Regions from separate parts of the Homo sapiens genome. Here regions 1, 2, 3 and 5 are each linked to region 4. The links are contacts of gene promoters, found by promoter capture Hi-C in blood cells and fetal thymus (Javierre and others, 2016). All regions are on one chromosome and are shown on one strand. Each heading gives the region's core, a stretch centred on a gene start or on the middle of the fragment in contact. The rest is flanking DNA. Distances are from core to core; before and after follow the strand shown.

Region 1 (2,700 bases), core at 25-2,524, 280 kb before region 4:
CAGACTTTTTCAAGATTGCTGTTCCCTCTCTGGAAAGTTCTCATCCTGCTGCTCACTCGATTCGCTTATAGATTTTGGTTTGTGTTCTTCAAGGAAGTCTTCTCTGGCCCCAGCACCGGGTGAAGCTCCTGTGCTTAATGCTTTCGGAGCAAAGCTTCTTTCCTGGAGAACTTTCATCTGGTGTAGAATCATATGCTTATTAGTGTGAAGGGGTGAACAGAGTCTGTTTCCCTAGGCAACAAGGATGAAATTGGCTTGGTTTCACGATTATTTCCCAGTGCCTAGCATAGTTCCAGGTACCAGGTATATTAGTCTGTTCTCTTGCTGCTAATAACACATACCTAAGACTGGGTAACTTATTTAAAAAAAAAAAAAAGAGACAAAGAGAGGAGTTAATTGACTCACAGTTCCACATGGCTGGGGAGGCCTCACAGTCATGGCAGAAGAGGCAAAAGGCACATCTTACATGGTGTAGGCAACAGAGAGCATGTAAAACCATCAGATCTTTATAAAACCATCAGATTTCCATGCCACTGCGCTCCAGCCTGGGCAAAAGAGCGATACTCCATCTCAAAAAAAAAAAAACCATCAGATCTCATGAGACTTATTCACTGTCACAAGAACAGCATGAGAAAGACCCACCCCCATGATTCAATTACCTTCTACCGGGTCACTCCCATGACACATGGGAATTGTGGGAGCTACAATTCAAGATGAAATTTTTGTGGGGACACAGCCAAACCATATTACCAGGTATGTTTTCAGTCATTACATGGCTGTATGACTGGGACAGTTGTTAAGATATTGAAATGTTTCTGTATCCATTGGCAATTAACCACTGCCCCAAACCTTCCCAGTGCTCCATGGTACCCCAGCTAACCCATACCCTCCTCTGGACCTTTTGGACTCCCCATAATCCAGTAATCAAAGAGTTAATGTGTGGCACAGTGCTCAGATAGTGACAGCTAAATGTTTTAAATATCACACCAGCCTGCATACAGCAGACACTTACTAATCATGGGTTGACTGAAAGAATCATGGTAGAGCTAGTGTTTCAGTCCAGATCGCTCAACTCCCTGTTAGTTATCTTTCTGCTTTGTCCTGCTGTTCCCCGCCCCAGCCCCCAGTTGACATAAAGGGCTTTCTTGGCAAGCTCCAGAAGGTGACATGGTCCTGTTCACTCATGGGTCCTTCTGAGCATCCCCACTCCCCACTCAAGCCTTCAAGAGCACTACAGCAGGTGCAGGCCTATACCTGCCTGCCTGGGCTGTGAAGTCCACGGCATATGGTTGGCACCAGGAGCAGAGGCAGCCAGGTACCCTTGCCTCACCCTCTGCTGAAATTCTCTAGGGAATCCCCACTTCAGCAGAAGTCATGTGACCTTGGGAACTCCATTCACCATTTCAAAAGTATATGACCACCTAAATACCAACTCTTCACACCAGGCAGTCTTCCCTCTGAAGGAGCAAGGTGAAAGAAGGAAAATTTTTCTTTCATTAAAGAAGATACTTGGCCTGGGTGCAGTGGCTCACACCTGTAATCCTAGCACTCTGGGGCCCAAGGTAGGAGGATCACTGGAGTCCAGGAGTTTGAGATCAGCCTGGGCAACATACAGAAACCCTGTCTTTACAAAAAAAAAAAAAAAAAAGTTTTAAAAATTAGCAGAGCATGGTGGTGTGTGTCTGTAGTTCCAGTTACTAGGGAGGTTGAGGCAGGGGAATCACTTGAGCCCGGGAGTTTGAGGCTGCAGTGAGCCATGACTGTGCCACTGCATTCCAGCCTGGGTGACAGAGCAAGACCCTGTATCAAAAAAGACAAAAACAGAAAAAGATACTCAATTGTAGCCATTTTTTATTCTTGGGCCACCCGCATCATGGCGGAGCTCCCTAAGTTCTGAGCATTGAGAAGAAGGCAGTACCTTTCTTAGTTTGAGTTTCCCCAAAAGCAGAACCTAGGTATAAGTTGTTTATTTGAGAGTTGAGCCAAGAAAGCACTAGAGGGAGAAAGAAAGTGAAACCATAAAGAGGGCGCTAATGGACTAATGATCAGGCTACATTTGCAGGCAGCTGGGCTCAGTCTCACAACAGACCTGAGAGACTGTGGAGGTCGCTTCTGAATTGTCTGTTAAAGGGACAAGGAAGCTGCAGTAGTTATCCACCAATTCCTATCCATCATTGATTGAGAGGGTCCTTCTGGGGCATTCATTCCCTGGCACTTTTGGCTTGCCCTGTGATCTGGCCAAGTACAGTCAGGAGCCATTGGAGTATCTGGGAGCTGTCTGCTGGAGACCTCACTCAGGGTCAAGGGGATATGTGTGGGGACTCCAACAGCACCAGCTAGAGAATTCAAATGCCTTAAAGCGGAAAACTCTTACAGGCCACCAAGGAAGCTTCCCACTGAGCAGTGTGGTGAAGTGGGAAGAGCTTGGTCTTTGAAATCCAAGCCTTGAGCTTGAATCTTGCTATATTTACTAGCTGGGCCACTGGGTGAGTTTAAACGATGTCTCTAAACATCGTTTTTTTCATCTGTAAAGATTATACTAAAGATTAAGTTAAATGCTATATATAAAGTGGTACTAAACTGGGCACATAGAAAGTATAGTTCTGGAACATTATCAATGATAATTGACATAACAATAATTACTATTTAAATAAAGTAAATCTTGAGTTTCTCATGATCTAGAAGGCTCACAAAGCTGAG
Region 2 (2,700 bases), core at 176-2,675, 260 kb after region 4:
TCGAAATGTAGCTACTGTCCACCAAGAAGAACCTAATCATTGTGAAAGACCAAATTTGCTACAGTCATATCTCAACTAAACTAGCTCTCTCAGAGAGATTAAGTGATTTGTCCAAAGTCACATAGCTAGTTGGCAGTAGAACTGAGTTTAGAATGTAGGGTTCCTTGCTACATCTTCCCATCCAACAGTTGTAGGCCAAGGATGCTCATACCAATTATCTGTGGAACTTTCATTTATTTATTTATTTATTTATTTATTTATTTATTTATTTATTTTTGAGGCAGAGTCTCATTCTGTTGCCCAGGCTGGAGTGCAGTGGCATGGTCTTGGCTCACTGCAACCTACACCTCCTGTGTTCAAGAGACTCTCTCACCTCAGCCTCCCAAGCAGCTGGGAGCACAGGCACACACCACCATGCCTGGCTAATTTTTTTGTATTTTTAGTAGAGACGGGGTTTCGCCAGCCTGTTCTTGAATTCCTGGCCTCAAATGATCCGCCTGCCTTGGCCTCCCAAAATGCTGGAATTACAGGTGTGAACCACTTTGATCGAACTATGGGACTTTAAAACAATGCATATGCACAGGCCCAGCCTGGGAAGTTCTCATTCTGAAGGAGGGCTGGGGCAGGGGCACCTATGGCTAGGGCAGGACCTATGTTTTAAAAAGAATCTGTGCAGGTGACTCTGATGCACACACATATAATAGACAATCATGGGGCTATTGCATGGATACTAACAGGTACCATCTATTGTACATTTTCTACAGGCCCAGTCCTGTGATGGATGCTTCACATGCTCTATATTTTTCATTTTTACAACTAGCCAGCTAATAAATAAGGTGTTTTTAGCATTTTACCGATGAAGAAGCGAATTCAGAGAGAAGTCCAAAGTGACAGCTTATAAATGGCAAGATGGAGATTCCAACCGAGAATCTCCATAGACCCTGCTCTTAACTGTCACACCCTGCTATATGCTATGGAGCATAAAGTTGCTCAATGGCACAGGTCACAAACCTACAGGTTACAGGTGGGTAATGTAAATGAGGAAAATAGGTCAAATAGGAACTGGGGTGAGCTGGAGGCCATGTGGCCCTTTAATGGGTTCTGAGTGTTTGGATGCTTTAAGAGCAATGATGGAGAGCAACCGGAACTCTCATCCATGTTTATGGGACTGCAAAATGGTTCAGTGTCTTTGGGAACAATCGGATAGGTTCTTATAAAATTAAACATATACTTACCATATGACCCATCAATCCTACTCCTAAGTATTTACCAAGAGAAACGAAAACCTATGTCTGCAAAAAGATATATACACAAATATTCACAGCAGCGTTATTTAAAATAGCCCCAAACTGGAAGCAACTTACACATTCATCTACTGGTGAATAGATAAATTGTAGTATACCCCCACTCTGGAATATTACTCAGCAATTAAAAGGAATGAAATACTGACATATGCAACTACATGGATTAATTTCAAAAGCTCTATGCAAATGAAAGAAGTCATATACAAAAGATGACACACTGTATAATTCCATTTACATGAAATTTTAGAAAAGGCAAAACTCTAATGTCAGGAAGCAGATCAGTGGCTCTCTGTGGCAGGGTGGGGAAAGAGATTTGAATGCAAAGGGGTAGGAGGAAACTTCTGGAGTGAGGGAACTGTTCTATATCTTGATGTGTGGTGGTGGAGCAAGGCAACACAGCTGCATATGCATACCAACAAACATCCAACTCTACAGTTAAAATGGGTGAATTTTGTTGTATGTAAATAATAATTAAAAAAAAAACTGTGCAGAGCAAAAGTAAAAAAATCTGTAGGCCACTTGTGGCCCACAGACTTCCAGTTTTCAACCTCTGGTCTCAGTGGAGAGATTCTGCTTTAGCTGCCCCGAGGAAATACAAAAGATGACAAAAAGTCATCCATCATCCTCCCCAGGGCTGGGCTCAGGAAGAACGGTGACGTTTTCGTTTATCCCCCTCTTCCAATTCTCTGTCCTCCTTCATCACATACAAAATGCTCCCATGCTGCCCCCTGGCTGTCCAGCACCTCCTACCAGGGCACCCCACCCATGTCTCCTGGAGTCAGCTCCAAAACCACCCTTCCCTCAGGCCCTCCTCCTGACCTCCAGAATGCAGAGGCTGCCCCTCAGTGCTTTGTGCAAGGTGGAGACACATTACACTTGGTTAACACATGACCAGGTAGGTGCACATGACTGTTACTGATGACATTTCCAAGCACTGACATCTGATGAAGACAATGCATGGAGCCTTAACCCAAGTTCAGTATTACCTTCCAGTCAGGTAGGGAATACCTTGGGAAAAGTGGGGCTATTTCTGGAATTCACTGCACTTTTCCCTACCAGAGTGACTTGCCTGCTCTGCTTATACATACATTTTTGTCATCAATATTATCATCAAACACGTTAAAATTAATACATGCAAGTGGTTTGGATGGTCACTATAGAAAGGTACAAATAATTCTCAGTACCCAGTTGTCAAAACTGAGAGTGCTCTTAAATACCAGGCTGAGGAGCTCTAAGGACATGCTAGAGGCAGCCCTTTTATTTTCTGAAACCAAATTAATGTCAACCACACACTGCTGGGCTTTCCTGAGCCTCCATATATGTCATAATAACTTGATTTTTAAAAAACCCACTACTGACAATAACTATAATAACTATGAAAAATTGGCATTAGTAG
Region 3 (2,700 bases), core at 74-2,573, 280 kb after region 4:
TTTTAAAAAAAGCTTAAACATCTAGCCATGGCATATGTAAGAATAAACCTGTTTTTATTTTAAAAATTACATTTCTATAGCTTACAGATCTTGCATTGGCATTCCTGGTCTATTTACTCTTAGGAATCATTCTGACAGTGCATTTAAGCTTTCCAGATGTTTTACCTGTCATTCTACCAAAGACTACATTTAAAATGTAAAATATGATAGCAATGATAGGTGGCAATGATTCCCCAGGCTAACTCGAAAGTAACTCTAACAAAAATATGCATATCAGATAATATTGTGTGAATGGTCCTGGCTAGGTCAACTGCATTTAATACTGTCTGCTTTGTTTATACTACAGATTAGTTACAAAAGACCTCTTAGCAGCTCCACGCATAAGGAAGTTAACCATACTCATACTGGAAGGATAAACAAAATTCACTTTCTGAAGGAAACAATCTGAGTGCGTGTGTGTGTGTGTGCGCGCGCACGCGCGCATGTGTGTGAATGGGGGCAAATATAGGTAGTGTCGGGGAGAGAGGAAATTATTTGATTTGAGATTGTCAAACAGAATGGGTGTTAATCATCTATGCCATTCCTTCTTTTCTTTTCCTTTTTCTTTTTTTTTTTTTTTTGAGATGGAGTCTCACTCTGTCACCCAGGCTGGAGTGCAGTGATGTGACCTCGGCTCGCTGCAACCTTTCGCCTCCCAGGCTGAAGTGATTTTCATGCCTCAGCTTCCCAAGTAGCTGGGATTATTAGCTACTGCACCTGGCGAATTTTTTTTGTATTTTTTAGTAGAGGTGAGGTTTCACCATGTTGGCCAGGCTGGTTTCGAACTCCTGGCATCAAGTGATCTGCCTGCCTCGGTCTCCCAAAGTGTTGGGATTACGGGTGTGAGCCACCACACCTGGCTTATGCCATTTTTTTTATAAGCACTTTGCCAGCATATACAATGCAGCGGAGGAGCCAAGGTAAAGTAGTAACATATCCTGTAAATTTTTGTCAGTGGAGCTCTTAAGCTATAACTTTGTTACATTCCTGAGGCATTGTTCATATACTTTTAGAAACAAATGTACAATTAGTGATCAATCATTAACTCTTCAGAGGTAAAAGGAAATAGAATCATGATTTCTTTTTATTCTGACTGAATTTTGAAAATCTTAATTTTCATTTTTACAGATTGCCGACAGTTTGAACGAATAAGACTTTCTGCTCAAAGGTATAGAAAAAATACACACACAGACACACACATAAATACACACATATGAAGAGAGACATTTAAGTCTCCTAGTGATACTGTGACACTTTAAGACAGCCAATTATAATAATCAAATTTTGTGAAAGTCAATGAAAAGACCCATTTATTGGACCCAGTTACAACATAAATGGTCACTTGTTTCATGACCATTTTCATTATTATCTGAATTCCACTGTATTTAAACTCTGTCTACAGAGTTAGGAAATGAACAGTTTGTCCCTGGATGGCTCTCCATCACATGTCAGGATCGAAGAAAAATTACTTTCCAGGAAATCAGCCAGAGCTGTGTTCTGATGTCGAGTTTTACTATTATAATTTTGAATGAACCAATTTTCTCCTTTGTTTTCTTTCTTTTGGTAACATGGCATGCTTACATGAAGAGCAATTTCTTTTCGGTTGAAGCAGTTGCTGTCTCACTAAATTACATATTATATGTCAATGTTTTTGCACACCTTAGTTCTTTTCAAAATTTGTTTGTAATGATTCCATATACCATTTTCTATTTCCCTATTTTTTTTTCCAAACAGGTGGGCATTATAGCCATTTAACTCGTATTTTTTATTAGTTATTTGTTTTTCTGGTGTCCCTTTTAATGACCAGCAAGGACTAACTGGAGTTGTGGAATCTTCAATAGCTGCTTTGAGAATCCGTTAATTTTGTGAATTTCCATAGTACATTTTTATGCATACGTCCTCTACTACACTAAAGTACTCTGAAAGTGAGGATAAAATTGGTTTCATTTCAGGATCCCCGGCCCTGGCATACAGACATTAAATATTTACTAAGGAAATGAATAAGCAGAAGAAAGAAGAGAAGAAAGGAAAGAAGGAAGGAAATAGATGTTTATCTTATTTGAAGTTAATAAAATATTAAAAAGCATGAGTGGTAGATGATTATTTAGTGGCTGCTGGATTTTATAAACTTAATTTTTGTTGCTTACTTATTTTGATTTCTCCAATTCCTTTTGGTCAGTTTTACAGATAATCAAGTGGCCATACGCACAGATCTTGGTATCAATGGAACACTGGTTTCACCTGTCTTCACAACAGACCATACGTAAAATGGCTCAAATGATGAGCCGTGCCAAGCCATTTCTGTTCACTTTACAAATTTAAGAACAATCAAGGTTTAAAAAATTTTAAAAATAACCTGCAATCTTTCTTTTAAATAAAGCAACTCCTTGGTTTGGTATACTACAGAATATTTAACTATTTTCAGTCACACAGAATTTATCATATGAAAATAAGCTTATGTTATATGCAGGTAAATGCTCACACTTCACAAAGAGGACATTCATTTCTTTTATAGATTTGTGAAGGTGACAGATGAGTACAAGATTCAATAACATAACATTTCCTAAATCAGAAACGCTTGTTGACACACGATATAGCTATGCAGTTTTGGTAAGAAGAAGAGTAAGAGAATGTGGCTTTTCTTTCTGAAACACAAGCTCA
Region 4 (2,700 bases), core at 56-2,555:
GGATCATGATGAAGGGGTAGCCGGGATACGGTGGCCCCTTAAAGAGCCCTCCATCTTGCCTCTTGGCCGCTAACATGGCGGGGCGGCGAGGGGACAGCGGCGGCCGCGCGGAGCGGGAGAGAGTGAGGAGAAACTTTTTAGAAAGTGCCCCGAGGGGCCGGGCGCCCCGACCGGGCCGGCGCAGGGCCAGGCCGAGCCGGGCGCGGGGCCGGGGCGCGCGGGGCGGCCGGCCCGGGGGGCGGCTCCGGGCGGCTGCGGGGCGCGCGGGGCGTACTCACCTTCTTCCAAACTTTCCCGGGATTTGTCTCGGAAACTTTCGGAGCGAGGCGGAGGCCGTCTTTCCGCCTTCCCAGAGGGGTGGAGGTGGGGAGGGCGAGGGGCAAACGCCACGCAGAAGGGGGAGAAGGGGGAGAAAAAGAATCGGCGAGGTCGAGGGGGGGGTAGAAAAAAACAGGGTTACAAGTTTTTGCAATGGTGGCACCGTACGCACACGCCGCCCGCCGGGCCCCGCCGCCGCCCCCAGCCCCGATTTCTCCCCTTTCAGCAACATTTGCCAAGCCCAGGAAACAGATAAAAAACCCCACCAGCCCGAGGGGCTTTTCCTACCTCGGAATCGGAGGAGCTGTTTTGATTCGTTTCTGATTCATTGACTAGAGACGATTTGACATCAGCTAAATCCCTCTCTGCCGAGGAGTTTTCGGAGCTCTTCTCCTCCTGTTCGCCCTCGTCTTTGAAGGAAATCAGTTCGTCGTTGGCGCCTAGGTCATCCCCTCCACCGCCGTTCAGCTGCGGCATTTTTTTTTCACCCACCAGCAGCAATTTTGGAAGAAAAATGAAGGAGGAAGAAAAGCCAAAAAAAATCACCCCCAAAAAGTTTTGCCCCCCCAAAAAATATTGCAAGAAAAAGACGAGTCCAAGGTGAACTTTTTTCTGCTTGGGGGTCTTTTTCTCCTGGGGAGGGGAAAAGAGGGAGGAGGGGAGGGGAAGGGGGGGGAGATCTTCTGCACGCGTGAGTTTGGGTTTCTTTTTTCTCTCGTTCCCAAGGATCCGATCAATGTGCAAAAAAATAATAAATAAAAAAGGGGGGTAAAAAAAAAAAAAACACCAACAACAACAAGAAGTCAGATATAAAGAGCAAAGGGGGGGGGAAGCCGAAGATACAGGAGGTGCTCGTGCCGCTCGGATTTGAGTGAGTTGAAGTTAGACTGAGAGCTTTTCAGTTCAAAGGCGGCGCTGATTGACAGATAGAAAAAGGGGGATCGAAATCCGGAGGAACGGAGTAGTCTGGGAGCGGAGATTATTGACAGGGCGAGAGGAACACACTGCCTTAATGAGATGCCGGAGGGCGGGGCCGGCCCAGTGACGTGTGCATAAATAAACAGCCGGGGTGGGCGGGGCGGGGGCGGCTAACAATGATCCTTTCGGGCGCCGGGAGAGGGAGGAGGGAAAGAAGGAGGAAGAGAGGGGCGGGGAAGCCGGGGGGAGACGGAGGGAGGAGTGTGCAGGGGGAGCGGCCTGCGCGGAGTGTGTGCGAGCCCGGGATTCTGGGCGAGGGTGCAGGGACTTGCTCCGGGAGGGGGCGGTTTCAGAAAGACAATGCGGGGTGGGAGAGGAGGAGAAGGGGGTGGCGACCAAGTCAGGAATCCGAGCCGAGGAAGGCGGAAGGAAAGCCCACTTGGGGGGCGGGGATGGGGAGAGGCCCAAAACAGTGCACTTTAGAAATATTAGAAATAAGTCTTAAGGGAGGGGGAAAAGGAAGGGTAGTATTTGAGAAAGTGGTGGCTGGGGGAGGGGGTGGGGGGGTGCTTGGTGGTTAATTCAGCAGTGAAATCAGCCACCCTTAGACGGGATGCGACAAAAGTGGTCAAAAGGAAAGATCAACCCTCCACTTTCAGAGAGCTTGGGGAAGTGAAGGGGCTGGTCAAAGTTCCTGGTCATCTACAATGAAAGAAACTATTAACCCATGAGGCCTCCCTCCTCCCTTTTTTGTTTATTAGTAGTGAATCATTTCATGAAATGTTAAGTCCCACTAGGATGGATATGCCAAAACGACTTTTTATGCAAAAAACAAATGCTAAATGTCAGAAACATTAAAAGTATCCTTAAGGAAAAATATATGATTCTTTTAAATGTAGAGTGGTGTTTTGCTTTTTTTTTTTTTTTTTTAACTGACGTTGGAGGTAGTAGGAAATGAGCTAGAGTCAAAGTCCTTTTTGACTTAGGAGGTGAAAAGTTTGGGCGTTAACACCGTCAGGGAAAATAAAACTGAAAGTTCACCAACCCCTGGGATCAGTTGGGCTACAGTGTTTCTCGAAGGGGGTCTGAAATGAAATCCCCGAAAGACTGACCAAAATAATCAAGATGTAGGTGGCTCTGGCAGGAAATTGCTAACCAAACCGATGCTAGAAGACCTTCGGGAGAAGATGGGAAACCTGGGGCTTGAGGCAGGTATTTGTTGACTTTTAGGTATTAGAGGAGGAGCAGACTGATTTGCTACAAAATGGGGAATGGAATTATGTTAAAGAGGAAAGACCCAGCTCCCAAAACACAATGTTCCTGGGTGATAGAGCAAGAAAATTCATTTTTGCAAATACCCAGTAAGAAGTAGACTGGACACTACAACATGAAAAAGAGAAAAAAGAAAAAAATAAATCAGTAGGATTTAGCAAATTGCCTCTTAGGAGTAGTATTAGTCTAGAG
Region 5 (2,700 bases), core at 125-2,624, 310 kb after region 4:
ATATTCCATGAACTTAAGTCTTTGGGTAAAGAAAAATAATTTCATATTTCTATTTTAACTCCAAATGGCCCTTGAATCATTACTCTTCAAAGTCCCCAACAGAAGGTGGAAGACATGATTATTCCTAATTTACTGGTGAAGAAAAGCTGCACAAAGGAGTTAAATTACTTTTCTACTGTCACAAGGGAGGCACAGAATCATGAAATCATATTTTGTCTTCTGGTCTATTTTTTAGTCTTCAAAGCAGAAAACTGGCATAAGCCATATTGGGAATATGTGTAGTTTCTGGAACCAGCAGCTGAGAGTCAATGAAGATTTCAAACAAACTTTTCTTTTAAAAGCAAAAACAAACTATTAGACTAAGCTGGCTTTTGTTTTTTATAAAAATTTCCATATTCTGTATATACCTTTTCAATGTAAGTTAGTTTCTTGTATTCCAATATCAATTCATAGGTAAACACTTGGATGTTAGTGTTTTCAGCCTGTTCTAGAGCTCTTAAATGTTAAAACATCTAGTCACCCCATGTCAGTTCTTAAATATTTCAATGAATTAGGTAGTTCTTTGCATATGTATGATTGCTGAATTTCATTAGTGAGTCAGTCATGAAGCTTCTAGGTCTGAGTATGCCAAAATGATGATGTTAACATGAGGAGAGAAATACAAACATGTTCAAAGAGCTACCTGTTTTGAAAATTCCAAAATGTCACTGTTATAGAATAACTATCCAATTAGTAATTGTCTATGTGATTCATCAAAAGAATAAGCATCAGAAAGTCAGTCTCCTATACGTCTAAAAGCTCAGTATTTAAATGATATTTTGCTTTTTATAATCATGTCGACTCTCATTATGCATTTTTAATTGTCAATGAAATTTAGTAATAAAAAGAGAAAGCTTTAATTGAAATGTTTGTAAAATCCTCTTACTTGGAGAGTTTGTGTGAGTTGATTAATTAAGAGACTTTCACAGTTTTCATATTGATTGCCTTTGTGTTTCTGAACTTTCTGTCTGTTGCTCATGAGCAGAGCAAAAGTAAGAAATCCTGGATGTAACAAGATGTAGGATTTCTTGATACAGGCTTCCACTTTGATAAATTGAGTGTTTTTCCCTCCCTTTTTGGAGTATTTCTCTGTTCTCCCATTTTGTAGAAAGAAACAGGCTTTTAAATGCTGATACTTTTGCTTCAATGTCATAATTCCACCAAATGCCTTTAGGAAATAAAATCTCCTATTTCTAGTACAGTTTTTATTTATTTTATTAAATTGTTTAAAAACAGAAATGAAAAAAAAAAAAAGCCCAACCTGTTTTGCTAGGACTAAGCCAGAAGGAAATGGTAATATCTGTATTCTAGATCTCTGTAGTTAAAAAAAAAAAAAAAAATTAAAGAAATAGGAATTTTCTGCTTACATTTGGGTGAAATACATTTGTGCTACATTTAAACTATGAGAGCTGAATCTATTTGACAATAAAGTTAAATATTTCCCAATATTATCACTAAAAAGTGTCTCATGGAATTTTATGTAATAGGTTACATTTCAAAATAAATAAAAATAAAATTGATCTTTGGTACTTTTAATTAATCTTTCCTCTTGCCACCAAATACTTAGGGTGTTGTTATAAGATAAATAAATATTTAGGGGATTGCTATAAGTTAAAATAAGTAAATGTTTAGGGTGTAATAAGATCAGCTTACAAATTTTCTAGCTTGTTTGTTTAGGAATTTCCCCTCTATACCAAGACAAGATACTTCTCTCTTCTTTTGAACATTTCAGCATATTTGTCCAGCATTATTTTTTCATTCTCTTTTATCCCTGGGGCTCTCAATGTTTAAATAACTCCCTCCCATGTAAAGCTTTGCACCGATATCGATCAGCCTAGGCTGGAAGTTACTATGAGGCATTTTCAATAATCAGCCCAGCTGTTCAGAGAGCTTCTTGAATAAAACCCTTAGGTAAACAGCATAATACACTGAGAACTCTCTGCCAACAACCAGCCCTGCTCAGAAATCTCAAGGATTGCTACGAATGCTTCACTGAACAAAGAACTTAATTCTGATTTTAACAATGAAGGCTATAGAGTAATTCAAACAAATCCCATCTTTCATTCACATATGTAGAGACTATAAGGGGTTTCCCCAACAAACAACATGCTTGCATATGTGATTAATTCCAAAGCATTGTGTGTCAAGTAAACAGTTTTTACACATCTAAAAAGCAACTGTATACAAGACAATTTTTTCGTACTACCATTTTACTCCCTAATCCACACATTCTGATTTAAGTTTATTTATTTAGAACTTTTAGGTCAATCATATTGTCTATCTTTATGGGATGTACAGTACAGAAATAAAGGTGCAATTACTTATTTACAATTTTACTTTACTTTTTAATTTCTTCTTTACTTAAGAGTTAAATGCTAAAGAAAAAGAGAGTCTTTTATACAGCTGTTTTTTTTTTGAGATGGGAGTCTCACCCTGTCACCCAGGCTACAGTGCAGTAGCGCGATCTCGGCACACTGCAACCTCCACCTCCTGGGTTCAAGTGACTCTCCTGCCTCAGCCTCCTAAGTAGCTGGGACTACAGGCATGTGCCACCACGCCCAGCTAAGTTTTTGTATGTTTAGTAGAGATGGGGTTTCACCCTGTTAGCCAGGATCTCTTGACCTCGTGATCCGCCCACCTTGGCCTCCCAAAGTGCTGGGA

The links. Contacts are between HindIII fragments. The CHiCAGO score rates a contact against its expected background, and 5 or more counts as called.
Region 1: a fragment that was not itself captured here is called in contact with the fragment with the promoter of TCF7L2 in region 4 in 1 of 17 cell types (M2 macrophages); the score reaches 5.6 in M2 macrophages.
Region 2: a contact is called between a fragment that was not itself captured here and the fragment with the promoter of TCF7L2 in region 4, in 2 of 17 cell types (M1 macrophages and M2 macrophages). The highest score is 5.7, in M1 macrophages.
Region 3: a contact is called between a fragment that was not itself captured here and the fragment with the promoter of TCF7L2 in region 4, in 3 of 17 cell types (M2 macrophages, M1 macrophages and endothelial precursors). The highest score is 6.4, in M2 macrophages.
Region 5: a fragment that was not itself captured here is called in contact with the fragment with the promoter of TCF7L2 in region 4 in 2 of 17 cell types (endothelial precursors and M1 macrophages); the score reaches 6.0 in endothelial precursors.

Annotation. Positions count from the first base shown.
Region 1 is chr10:113,232,650-113,235,349 of GRCh38, reverse strand. No RefSeq gene overlaps it. Among named protein-coding and RNA genes, the nearest start is that of SNORA87, 190 kb to the right of the region's middle. The HindIII fragment of the contact is 2,235 bases long and covers 157-2,391 here.
Region 2 is chr10:112,688,838-112,691,537 of GRCh38, reverse strand. The region is part of intron 7 of VTI1A (vesicle transport through interaction with t-SNAREs 1A); the gene reads right to left. Among named protein-coding and RNA genes, the nearest start is that of MIR4295, 56 kb to the right of the region's middle. The HindIII fragment of the contact is 8,382 bases long and covers 1-2,700 here.
Region 3 is chr10:112,671,236-112,673,935 of GRCh38, reverse strand. The region is part of intron 7 of VTI1A (vesicle transport through interaction with t-SNAREs 1A); the gene reads right to left. Among named protein-coding and RNA genes, the nearest start is that of MIR4295, 38 kb to the right of the region's middle. The HindIII fragment of the contact is 2,345 bases long and covers 151-2,495 here.
Region 4 is chr10:112,948,852-112,951,551 of GRCh38, reverse strand. TCF7L2 (transcription factor 7 like 2) reads right to left here and starts at 1,305. Exons shown (of 15, transcript NM_001367943.1): 1 at 607-1,305; 2 at 279-345; 3 at 1-69. The coding sequence starts at 795. LOC124902502 (a long non-coding RNA gene) reads left to right here. Exons shown (of 2, transcript XR_007062291.1): 2 at 545-923. The HindIII fragment of the contact is 8,187 bases long and covers 1-2,700 here.
Region 5 is chr10:112,637,415-112,640,114 of GRCh38, reverse strand. All of the region lies in intron 5 of VTI1A (vesicle transport through interaction with t-SNAREs 1A), which reads right to left. LOC124902503 (a long non-coding RNA gene) reads right to left here. Exons shown (of 2, transcript XR_007062292.1): 2 at 1-2,700. Among named protein-coding and RNA genes, the nearest start is that of MIR4295, 4.6 kb to the right of the region's middle. The HindIII fragment of the contact is 958 bases long and covers 896-1,853 here.